Linked DNA regions of Homo sapiens: region 2 is linked to region 1. The links are contacts of gene promoters, found by promoter capture Hi-C in human tissues and cell types (Jung and others, 2019). All regions are on one chromosome and are shown on one strand. The core of a region is centred on a gene start or on the middle of the fragment in contact, and the rest is flanking DNA. Distances in the headings are between cores, read along the strand shown. Region 1 holds the start of SREBF1 (sterol regulatory element binding transcription factor 1). Region 2 overlaps PRPSAP2 (phosphoribosyl pyrophosphate synthetase associated protein 2).

What was found. The method cuts DNA at HindIII sites, captures the fragments that hold promoters and counts their contacts. A contact is called where the count stands out against the background at its distance.
Region 2: a fragment that was not itself captured here is called in contact with the fragment with the promoter of SREBF1 in region 1 in 1 of the 25 tissues and cell types used here (aorta).

Annotation. Positions count from the first base shown.
Region 1 is chr17:17,834,047-17,839,784 of GRCh38, reverse strand. It overlaps SREBF1 (sterol regulatory element binding transcription factor 1), which reads left to right and starts at 2,799. Exons shown (of 19, transcript NM_004176.5): 1 at 2,799-3,058. The coding sequence starts at 2,968. RefSeq lists enhancers at 1,218-2,119, 2,120-3,022, 3,023-3,924 and silencers at 2,791-2,950, 3,141-3,420. The HindIII fragment of the contact is 17,140 bases long and covers 1-5,738 here.
Region 2 is chr17:18,882,984-18,888,721 of GRCh38, reverse strand. All of the region lies in intron 7 of PRPSAP2 (phosphoribosyl pyrophosphate synthetase associated protein 2), which reads right to left. Among named protein-coding and RNA genes, the nearest start is that of PRPSAP2, 28 kb to the right of the region's middle. The HindIII fragment of the contact is 9,677 bases long and covers 1-5,738 here.

The DNA.
Region 1 (5,738 bases), core at 1,550-4,049:
CAGCCAACCGGGGCCCGAGGGTCTTGTTTGGAGGTCTCAGGATCTTTGAGGAGAGAAACTGCCAAGACAAGCATGTTCCCCCTGAAAAATGGATCCCCTCTTCTGTTTTCCCCTACCCTCACGTTGAGGGTTGCCCTGGTAATCCCAGGCTGTGGGGCAAAGATTTGTTTCTTTGGTGGCAAAGATGTAAATTCTTCCCACCCCCACGTTGGACTGTGCCCCATGGGGGTTGGATTTTCTGGGGTGCAGGTCTTCTGTTGACCTTGTCTTACCTTCTTTCCCTTTCCCCTAACTCCTGCAGTTATGGAGTGAATATTTATTGAGCTATTCTATTTACATATGTGGTAACCCATTTAAAAACGGTGAGGCGGGTTGGGTGCAGTAGCTCACGTCTGTAATCCGAGCACTTTGGGAAGCCGAAGTGGGTAGATTACTGGAGGCTAGGAGTTCGAAACCAGTCTGACCAACATGACAAAACCCCATCTCTACTAAAAATACAAAAATTAGCCGGGCGTGGTAGTGCATGACTGTAATCCCATCTACTCGGGAGGCTGAGGGAAAAGAAATGCTTGAACCCGGGAGGCCGACGTTGCAGTGAGCCAAGATTGTGCCACTGCACTCCAGCCTGGGCAACAGAGCGAGACTCTGTCTTAAAAACAACAACAACAACAACAACAACAACAACAAAAACAGTGATAGCCAGGTGCAGTGACTCACACTTGCAATCCCAGCACTTTGGGGGGGCCGAGGTAGGTGGATCACCTAAGGTCAGGAGTTCAAGACCAGCCTGGCCAAAATGGTGAAACCTCATCTCTACTAAAAATACAAAAATTAGCCTGGCATGGTGGCGTGCGCCTGTAATCCCAGCTACTCAGGAGGCTGAGACAGAATTGCTTGAACCTGGGAGGTGGAGGTCGCAGTGAGCCGAGATCATGCCGCTGCACTCCAGCCTGGGTGACAGAGAGAGACTTTGTCTCAAAACAAAAAACAAAACAAAACAAAACAAAAAACAGTGAGGCAGATCTGTTGTGATGATGACTCCAAAACACCCTCCCTGCCTCTGCAGAGGGACTGCAGAAAGGGTTATTCCCATTTTATAGATACAGTAGCTGAGACTCAGAAGTGAGGTATTGGATCCAGGTCACACAGCAAGCAGGTGAAAACCCAGATCACCTGCCTAGCTCTGAAGAAAATGGTATTTAGGCTTCACCCAGCACTTCCTATCCCACCCCCTCCCTGGGAAGGGCTGTTTAAATTTTCAGGGAAGTCACCAGCTTCCTGCAGCCTCTAGAGTGTTGGTGGGGGTGGGGCACTGAGGAGAAGCCAGCTTTGTTCTCTGTGTTCTCCAGCAGTTGTTCATCTGGAGGGAGTGGGTCCTGGGTGGACCCTTGAGCAGGGCTACTTGGGGAGATGTGGTTTGGCGACCCCTATGACTTCTGGCGCCGCTATTCTGGGTAATTTTCCACCGCAGCCACTTCTGGGAGAGGAACAAAGGGAGCTGGATGTCCAGGCTGAGCCCCAGGGACTTGGGCTCTGTGGCTTCTCTCCCCCACACACCCCTTCTAAAATGCATCATGAATGTTACTCCTGCTTAGGGCGTGGCCAGATAGGCTATATCTGGAGTTTGAGCAAGGCAGTCTGCAGGATGGCTTGACTTATGAAGGTCTGGGGTCGGGAAGGCCTGAGGCCCAGGCCCCTGATGAGTTTCCTGGACTGCCCTCCACCAAGGGTGCTTCTCTCTGCTTGCATACCTCTGGGGACAGGGAGCTCACTGCCTTATCACATTCAGATTCCTGAATGTTAATTCTGGTTTATTTCAACCCACCTCATTGGGACCCCTTCCCTCCTTCCTGCCCCACCTGGCTCTGTCCCTAGGCCACAGAACCAGGTTCGGTTTCCAGCCCTCTTCTCAACAGGGCTGCCTGCTCTGATCTAGTCCCAGCTTGTGATGATCCAGGGCAGCCTGGCTCTGATCTAAAGCACAGCTACCTCTTCCTTGCGGCCCCTATCCTGGCTGCTCCTGGGAATAAGTGCCAAATCTGGGGTCAGACAGCCCTGGGGCCAGTCTTCCTTGGGTACTGGCTTCCTCCTTCAGGAGCTGCACTGGGCCCACTGGTATCCTATCCCTACAGCTGGATCTGGGAGGAAACCAGATGACGAAATTCCAGCCTCTTTCTTTGGCCACTCCTGTCCTCAAGAGGCCAATCTTCTGGTTTCTTTGCAGAGAGGGGGCAGGCTGATCTCACAGGTCATGCTCCCCTCCACATTGTCACTAGCCTCCCAGCCTGCCCGTGAGAAAGCATCATTAGGCCCATGTTACAAATGAGGAAAATTGAGGCAGAGTGATGTAACTGGCCCAGCAGTTACATCAGGCCTGCTCACAACACAGCAGGCCTGGGACCCCTATAACTTGGATCCTGGTCTGTCTTGTTCTAAAGAGTCAAATCTAGGAAATGAGGAAATGAAGTTTGGGATGGGCCCAGGCCTGGGGCTTCCACTCGGCTTCCTTGCTTGGTGCTGGAGAAACAGAGGCCCAGAGAGGGGGCTCGGCTTGCCCGCGTTCCCGCAGCAGCCGGCCAGAGGCCGCTGCCATTGTGCGCGAGGCTGGATAAAATGAATGACTGGAGGGCGCTCTGGAGGAGGGGCCGGCTGAGGGGAGATTTGTGGCGCAGACCGGGGATCAGGGGTCCCCCGCTCTCTCAAGGTGGGGCGGGGCCGTCTATCTGGGAGGGCGGGTCCTCCCCGAAAGGCCCCGCCTCCGCCTCGACCGCCCAGCAGAGCTGCGGCCGGGGGAACCCAGTTTCCGAGGAACTTTTCGCCGGCGCCGGGCCGCCTCTGAGGCCAGGGCAGGACACGAACGCGCGGAGCGGCGGCGGCGACTGAGAGCCGGGGCCGCGGCGGCGCTCCCTAGGAAGGGCCGTACGAGGCGGCGGGCCCGGCGGGCCTCCCGGAGGAGGCGGCTGCGCCATGGACGAGCCACCCTTCAGCGAGGCGGCTTTGGAGCAGGCGCTGGGCGAGCCGTGCGATCTGGACGCGGCGCTGCTGACCGACATCGAAGGTGCGTCAGGGCGGGCAGGGCTTGAAGCTGCGCCGGGTGGCGCGAGTAGGGGGCGCGCAGGTGTCTCCCTGGCCTTTGTCTCCCCCACGGGCGCCAGCTCCGTGCTGTGCTCGCGCGGGACTTCCCGGTGTCTCTGAGCTCGGTGTCCCGAGCCTCACCGAGCCTCCCTGGTTCCCGCGCTAGCGTCTCGGGCCGCGCGCTTGTGGGTGAGGGCTCCTGGGCCGGGCCGGGGTCCCTTGGCGGCTCCGGGCCGGGACACGTGCGCCTCTACGCGTCCCAGGCCGGGTGCCGCCCGACCGGTGACTCTCCAGCCCTGTGATGGCCACGGCTGAAGCTGGGGACCCAGGCGTCGCCGAAGCTCCGCCCCAGCCCCAGCCGTGACGTAATTGCGAGGTTACTCACGGTCATTCCCTCCGGCCCGAGAGTTCAGCTCGGCGTCGGAGCTCTTGCGCATGCGCATGGGCGCTGCCTCGCGCCCTTCCCCCGCCTCGTGTCGGGTTCTCCCGGTCTGCGACGGGCACAGCCTCCGCACTCATTCACTGACATCCACCGAATGCCAGGCCCCGTCTTAGGCACCGAGGGTTTACAGACAGACCTGGGTACCCCCTCTTTTAGGGAACACAAAAATCTCCCGGGAAACCAAACGGGTATTTAGTTGTACCTTGGGTGGAGCGAGGCTGGGGGAGGGCAGGGATGTGGCTACTTTGGGTAGAGCGGTCAGGGACTTCTAAGCTGAGACCTGAGGGTCACCCCCAGGACCAGCAAGGAAAGATGTTTTCCAGGCCACGGCAAGGGAAGGGCAAAGGCCTCGAGGCAGGGCCTAAGTGTGAGGAGTTAGAGGCTTGCAAAGGAGTGAGGTCAGGGAGGAGGAGGACGCAAACCGACTTGGTCGGCCAGGGAAAGGGCGGAGCAGAACAGTGGCACCGGCTTCCATCTTTGGAGCATCACCCTGGCTGTGATGAGAAGGGGTTTGGGGCCAATGGTGGCACCAAGTGCCAATTAGGAGGCCCGTTGCTTCCATTTTGTAGATAGAGCAAACGGAAGCCCCTAGCAAATTGCCTGCATGGTTTCTGTGCAGGAGTTTTAGCAGCACTAGCTAAGTTGCACTTGGTTGATGAGGAAACTGAGGCCAAGGTCGCAGGAACAAGATGCCTAGACTCACAGCCTGAATGGACATGTCCATGGAACCCGTGGCCACCCTGGGGTTGGCAAAACAGATATATCTATGCCACCACCACTCCTGCCCTACTGCAGCCTTGCAGATGAGCCCAGCTGGTTGCCAGCCCCAGAAGCTTCCCAGCCCTCCCTCCTTCCCCCTGGGGCTGGGCTAGGGGAGGACCCCAGAGGAGAGGCCCTGATTGTGAGGCTTTTCCAAAACAGCCTCCCCTATCCCTGGCACGAGGGGTTGTCCTTCACTGCCCTCTGGAGTGATGAACCCTGAAATCCCAAGCCCTAGGGAGATCTGGGCCTGACTCAACTACCAGTTCCACATCACTGGGCCCAGTGAGTGTAGTCCCAAGAGGCAACGTGACCAAGCCAGGAGGACATGCGCTTTGGGGTCAGAACTTGAACCTGGACACTCCTCACTTCCTTTGTCATCCTGCTCAAGCCCTCTCACCCTCTAAACCTTAGTTTCCACCTCCAGAAAAATGATGCAAACCCTCCCTTCATGGGCAAGTTGGACAACAGAACCCGTTCTGGGCCACAGGTCTGATACAGACCTTTGTTTGTTTGTTTGTTTGTTTTCTGCAGTGGCGCAATTTTGGCTCACTGCAAGCTCCTCCTCCTGGGTTCACGCCATTCTCCTGCCTTAGTCTCCCAAGTAGCTGGGACTACAGGCGCCAGCCACCACGCCTGGCTAATTTTTTGTATTTTTAGTAGAGACGGGGTTTCACTGTGCTAGCCAGGATGGTCTCGATCTCCTGACCTTGTGATCCGCCCGCCTCAGCCTCCCAAAGTGCTGGGATTACAGGTGTGAGCCACCGCTCCCAGCCCAGACCTTTCTTACTGACAGAATCTGGTCTGGGCCAGAGGTCTGATACAGACCTTTCTTACTGACTCATGGATAAAAACATTGTCTCTCCAGAACCAAAGGCCAGGCATGGGCAGCCATGTGGCCCAAGGTCTAGTCTATGAGAGAGTGGGGGCAGTCCCAGCCCCTTGAAGACTGGGGGCAGCCCCTTCTCACTAGGCAGGGCTCAGCTTTACCCACTTCAGTAGAGGATTTTTCAGTTTTTATTCAAACTTCCTGTTTTTCTTCCCAATTACACACATCTTTTTTCATTGTAGAAAACTTAGAAAATGCAAGTGAGCAAAAAGAAGAAAATAAAATCTTTAGACCTGGGGTGGTGGCTCACACCTATAATCCCAGCACTTGGGAGGTCGAAGCAAGAGGATGACTTGTGTCCAGGAGTTTGAGACCAGCCTGGGCAACATGACAAAATCCTGTCTCTACAAAAATAAAAAATTAGCTGGGTGTGGGTGACATGTGCCTGTAGTCTCAGCTACTCTGGAGGCTGAAGTGGGAGGATTGCTTGAGCCTGGACTTAGAGGCTGCAGTGAGCTATAACCATGCCGTTGCACTCAGCCTGGATGACAGAGTGAGATTCTGTTTCAAAAAAAACTTTAAACCTACCACCCAGAGATAAGCCCTGCTAATTATGTGAAAGAGCTTTTCTTC
Region 2 (5,738 bases), core at 2,370-4,869, 1.0 Mb before region 1:
GGGAGGTGGGGGGGGTCAGCCCCCCTGCCCGGCCAGCCGCCCCGTCCGGGAGGGAGGTGGGGGGGGTCAGCCCCCCTGCCCGGCCAGCCGCCCCGTCCGGGAGGTGAGGGGCGCCTCTGCCCGGCCGCCCCTACTGGGAAGTGAGGAGCCCCTCTGCCTGGCCAGCCGCCCCGTCCGGGAGGGAGGTGGGGGGTCAGCCCCCCGACCGGCCAGCCGCCCCGTCCGGGAGGGAGGTGGGGGGGTCAGCCCCCCGCCCGGCCAGCCGCCCCGCCCAGGAGGTGAGGGGCGCCTCTGCCCGGCCGCCCCTACTGGGAAGTGAGGAGCCCCTCTGCCCGGCCACCACCCCGTCTGGGAGGTGTGCCCAACAGCTCATTGAGAACGGGCCAGGATGACAATGGCGGCTTTGTGGAATAGAAAGGCGGGAAAGGTGGGGAAAAGATTGAGAAATCGGATGGTTGCCGTGTCTGTGTAGAAAGAAGTAGACATGGGAGACTTTTCATTTTGTTCTGCACTAAGAAAAATTCCTCTGCCTTGGGATCCTGTTGATCTGTGACCTTACCCCCAACCCTGTGCTCTCTGAAACATGTGCTGTGTCCACTCAGGGTTAAATGGATTAAGGGCGGTGCAAGATGTGCTTTGTTAAACAGATACTTGAAGGCAGCATGCTCGTTAAGAGTCATCACCAATCCCTAATCTCAAGTAATCAGGGACACAAACACTGCGGAAGGCCGCAGGGTCCTCTGCCTAGGAAAACCAGAGACCTTTGTTCACTTGTTTATCTGCTGACCTTCCCTCCACTATTGTCCCATGACCCTGCCAAATCCCCCTCTGTGAGAAACACCCAAGAATTATCAATAAAAAAATAAATTAAAAAAAAAAAAAAGAAAGAACAAGTTATTATGAAAAAGAACCAAAAATAAATCTAGGGGGAAGAAGTTATTATGGTCTAAAGAAACCCAGTAGCTGGCTGGCTTAACAGCAGAATAAACACAACTTTAAGAACAAACCAGGGAAGATCAAGACAAGGAATTTCCCCAGAATGCTATATATAAGTATGCAAAAAGTAAAATAAGTTTTTAAAAGTTATAGAGACTAGATCCAAAATTTTCAGGACCTAATAGTTCCCAAAGGAAAATAATAAAAGAAATAGAAGGGATGAAATACTTAACAGATTAAAAAAAATTCCCAAAGATGGCCAGGCACGGTGGCTCATGCCCATAATCCCAGCACTTTGGGAGGCCAAGGTGGGCAGAACATCTGAGCCAAGACCAGCCTGGCCAGCATGGTGAAACCCCCTCGCTGCTAAAAATGCAAAACAAAATTAGCCAGGCGTGGTGGTGCACACCTGTAATCCAGTTACTCAGGAGGTTGAGGCCGGAGAATTGTTTGAACCCAGGAGAATTGTTTGAACCCATTTAAAATGTCTCCAGAAAGAATTACTATGATTCTTTTCATTAAAATTTTTCATTAAAATGAAAAATTATCAAGCCGGGCACGGTGGCTTCACGCTTGTAATCCCAGTACTCTGGGAGGTTGAGGCGGGTGGATAACCTGAGTTTGGGAGTTCAAGACCAGCCTGACCAACATGGAAAACCCCCTTTCTACTAAAAATACAAAATTAGCCAGGTATGGGGGCCCATGCCTGTAATCCCAGCTACTCGGGAGGCTGAGGCAGGAGAATCGCTTGAACCTGGGAGGCGGAGGTTGTGATGAGCTGAGATTGCGCCACTGCACTCCAGCCTGGGCAACAAGAGCAAAACTCCGTCTCAAAAAAAAAAAAAAAAAAAAAAAAGAAGAAAAGAAAAATTATCATGTATGCAGAAAGACACAGGAAGAGACCATCAGAGTATAATTTGATATTCATGAATCAAATATTCATCACTGGAAAAATGATACAATTCCACATTTTCTTGCAAGGCAACAATCAAATGCTTTATGAAACTTAAGAAAGGAAGATCCCTACCAGTAGGTCAAACTGTGAAAAGGACTGCCTGACACATCCCCAGCAGTGCAGCGGAAGGCAACAGACACTGTCAGACGCCCTCAGAAGAGATGGCAAAAGTTGGCTGGGCGCGGTGGCTCACACCTGTAATCCCAGCACTTTGGGAGGCTGAGGCGGGCAGATCATTAGGTCAGGAGATTGAGACCATCCTGGTTAACACGGTGAAACCCCATCTCTACTAAAACTACAAAAAAATTAGCCAGGCGTGGTGGTAGGTGCCTGTAGTCCCAGCTACTGGGGAGGCTGAGGCCTAGGAGAATGGCGTGAACCCGGGAGGCGGAGCTTGCAGTAAGCTGAGATTGCGCCACTGCACTCCAGCCTGGGCGACAGAGTGAGACTCCGTCTCAAAAAAAAAAAAAAGTATAGATGGCAAAAATTTCAAGGCAACGAGCATCCTAGTACCAGAATGTTCCTTCTGACTCTGGCAGAAGGTGCTTAAATTCCAGTGACAAACACAAGAGATGGAGAAAGCGTCAGCATCAAAACCTGCAGAATAGGATCACTAAGTGACAAGAAGGCACAGTGCCACAGTATAATTAGCAGTGTTTTCTTCTTTCTTGGTGACGTAAAATAATGTAAGCCTGGACTGACAGCACCTTAGATTCAGTGAAACATGAATATCTATCCCCTGCTTTAAGAGGCTCTAACACACGAAAACAAAAGAGACAAGATACGTATACTATAAAAAGGCAATACAGGCCAGGTGTAGTAGCTCATGCCTGTAATACCAGGACTTTGGGAAGCTGAGGCAGGCAGATCACTGGAGTTCAGAAGTTCAAGACCAGCCTGGCCAACACGGTGAAACCCTATCTCTACTAAAAACACAAAAATTAGGCCAAGTGCGGTGGTTCACACCTGTAATCCCAGCACTTTGGGAGGCCAAGGTGGGCAGATCACCTGAGGTCAGGAGTTCGAGACCAGCCTGACCAACAAGGAGAAACCCTGTCTCTACTAAAAATACAAAATTAGCCGGGTGTGGTGGCACATGCCTGTAACCCCAGCTACTCGGGAGGCTGAGGCAGGACAATCACTTGAACCTGGGAGGGGGAGGTTGCTGTGAGCCGAGATCATGCCATTGCACTCCAGCCTGGGCAACAAGAGCGAAACTCCATCTCAAAAAAAAACAAAAAACAAAAATTAGCCAGATATGCTTGCTTGAACCCAGGAGGCGGAGGCTGCAGTAAGCCAAAATCGCACTCCAGCCTGAGTGACAGAGAGAGACTGTCTCCAAAAAAAAGAAAAAAGCAATACACAAAAATTCCTTTTTAACACTGAGTTCCCACATATTAATTTTTTTTTTTTTTTTTTTTTTTTTTGTGAGAAGGAATCTCACTCTGTCGCCCAGATCACGGCTTGATGCAGCCTCGACCACCTGGGCAACTTCAACCTCCCAGGCTCAAGCAATCCTCCCACTTCTCATCCTCTTGAGTAGGGGGGACCACAGGAATGCACCACCACACCTGGTTAATTTTTATATTTTTTGTAGAGACAGGGTTTTGCCATATTGCCGAGGATGGTCTTAAACTCCTGGACTCAACTGATCCAACCTCCTCAGCCTCTCAAAGTGCTGGGATTATAGGTGTGGGCCACCACACTCAGCCCTGACTTCTTCTCAACAATGAAACTAAAATGGGGATTTTTTCAAGTAGAAGGCAGTGTCATCCTCAGGTAGAAGCCTGCACTACAGGCAATGACTAGCGTTAGGCTTCCAGCCTGACCTTGCAACCAGCACAAGGGTGCCCCAGCCTTCGTTCTTTAGGCTCACCCACCGGGCATCCCTTAAGAGGTGCAATTGCCATTTGTGCCTTGAGACATTGGCACACAACATGCCTGTGTCCTGAATGGAAACATCCCCTAAAACAACAAGATGTCGACAGCAACCCACATAAGTCTATAGCGACTGCTCTATTTCTTCCAAAATGACAGGTTTCTCCATGCGGCTGGTTGCTAACTGAACCACGTTCAATGCTCACCCTCTCACTCTCTCTCTGCCTAAACCTCTTCATCCTTCCCTATCAAGACATTTGCCAATTTTATCTCACCTTCTCTCTCAACTAAGAATAATATTCAGGTAAAATTAGGCCAGGCACAGTGGCTCACACCTGTAATCACACTGTTTTGGGAGGCTGAGGCAGGAGGATCGCTTGAGGCCAGGAGTTTGAGACCAGCCTGGGTAACACAGCAAGATTCTGACTCTGGAAATATTTTTTAAAAATTAGCTAGGTGTGGTGGCACACCTCTAGTCTCAGCTACTCAGAAGGCTGAGGTGGGAGAAATCTCTTGAGCCCAGGAGTTCAAGGTTGCAGTGAGCTATCATGGCACTACAGCACTCCAACCTGGGTGACAGAGAAAGACCCTGTCTCAAAAAAAAAACATAAAATTTTTCAGGTAAAATTAAAGTCTCTATTATTTTTTTAATTTGTTAGAGTATTTTTGTTTTCTTTTTTGTTTTTTTGAGATAGTCTCGCTCTGTCACCCAGGCAGGAGTGCCGTGGCACAATCCTGGCTCACTGTAACCTCCACCTCCCAGGTTCAAGCAATTCTCCTGCCTCAGCCTCCCAAGTAACTGGGATTACAGGCACGCGCCACCACATCCAGCTAATTATGTATTTTTAGTAGAGATGGGGTTTCACCATGTTGGCTAGGCTGGTCTGAACTCCTGACCTCAAGTGATCCACCCGCCTCAGACTCCCAAAGTGCTGGGATTATAGGCGTGAGCCACTGCGCCTGGCGTAGAGTTTTTATGTTTCTTGTGTGTAACTTTAAAGAAAAAAAAAAAGCAGAATATTTTACATTTTTCTCTTTCAAAAATACTTAAATTCATTTTCTCTATAAGGACTTATAACAATTGCTGGAGAATGGGGAAGCCCTGTATTCTTACCAGAAAGAAGTTCCTCAGAAACCTATAAACTGCCATCTTTTAAATACAGTACTGTAAAAAGAAGTTATCTTCTTTTAAATACAGTACTGTAAAAAGAAGTTATCTAGAAAAGTTATTAAAGAGAGAAATAATTTATATAAGAAAAACCGCTAAGGCCAGGTGCGGTGGCTCATGCCTGTAATCCCAGCACTTTGGGAGGCCGAGGCAGGCAGATCACGAGGTCAGCGTTCGAGATCAGCCTGGCCAACATGGTGAAACCCCATCTCTACTAAAGATACAAAAAATTAGCCAGCTGTGTTGGCGCATGCCTGTAATCCCAGCTACTCGAGAATTGCTTGAACCCGGGAGGTGGAGGTTTCAGTGGGCTGAGATTGCGCCATTACACTCCAGCCTGGGAGTGACTCCATCACACCCCCCACCAAAAAAAAAAAAAAAGAAAGAAAAACAGCTAAAAGCAAAATAGCTAAGTACAGTATAAATTAACATTTTAAAAGCTTTCTTAAATAGTAAGTCACAAAAATGCTAACTCATATCAAAGAAAAACAAATGTAGCTATATTAAAATTAAACATCTGATTTATCCCAGGATTCAAGGGTGGTAATAAACCACATTAACAGAATGAAGGAAAAAAAATGATCATCTCCACTGATACAGAAAAAGCATCTGACAGATTCAGCACCGCTTCAGGACAGTGGTTCCCTAGGGTGGAAGGAGGCAGGGGGATAGGACAGAGAAGGAGCCCATGAGCAGCTCTAAGTTATGATGATGACTCTAGTTTTCTTGCTGGGAGGTGGGATCATGGATGCTGGCTATTATAACTGGATGGACAGAGAGACAGGATGGATAGATGGATAC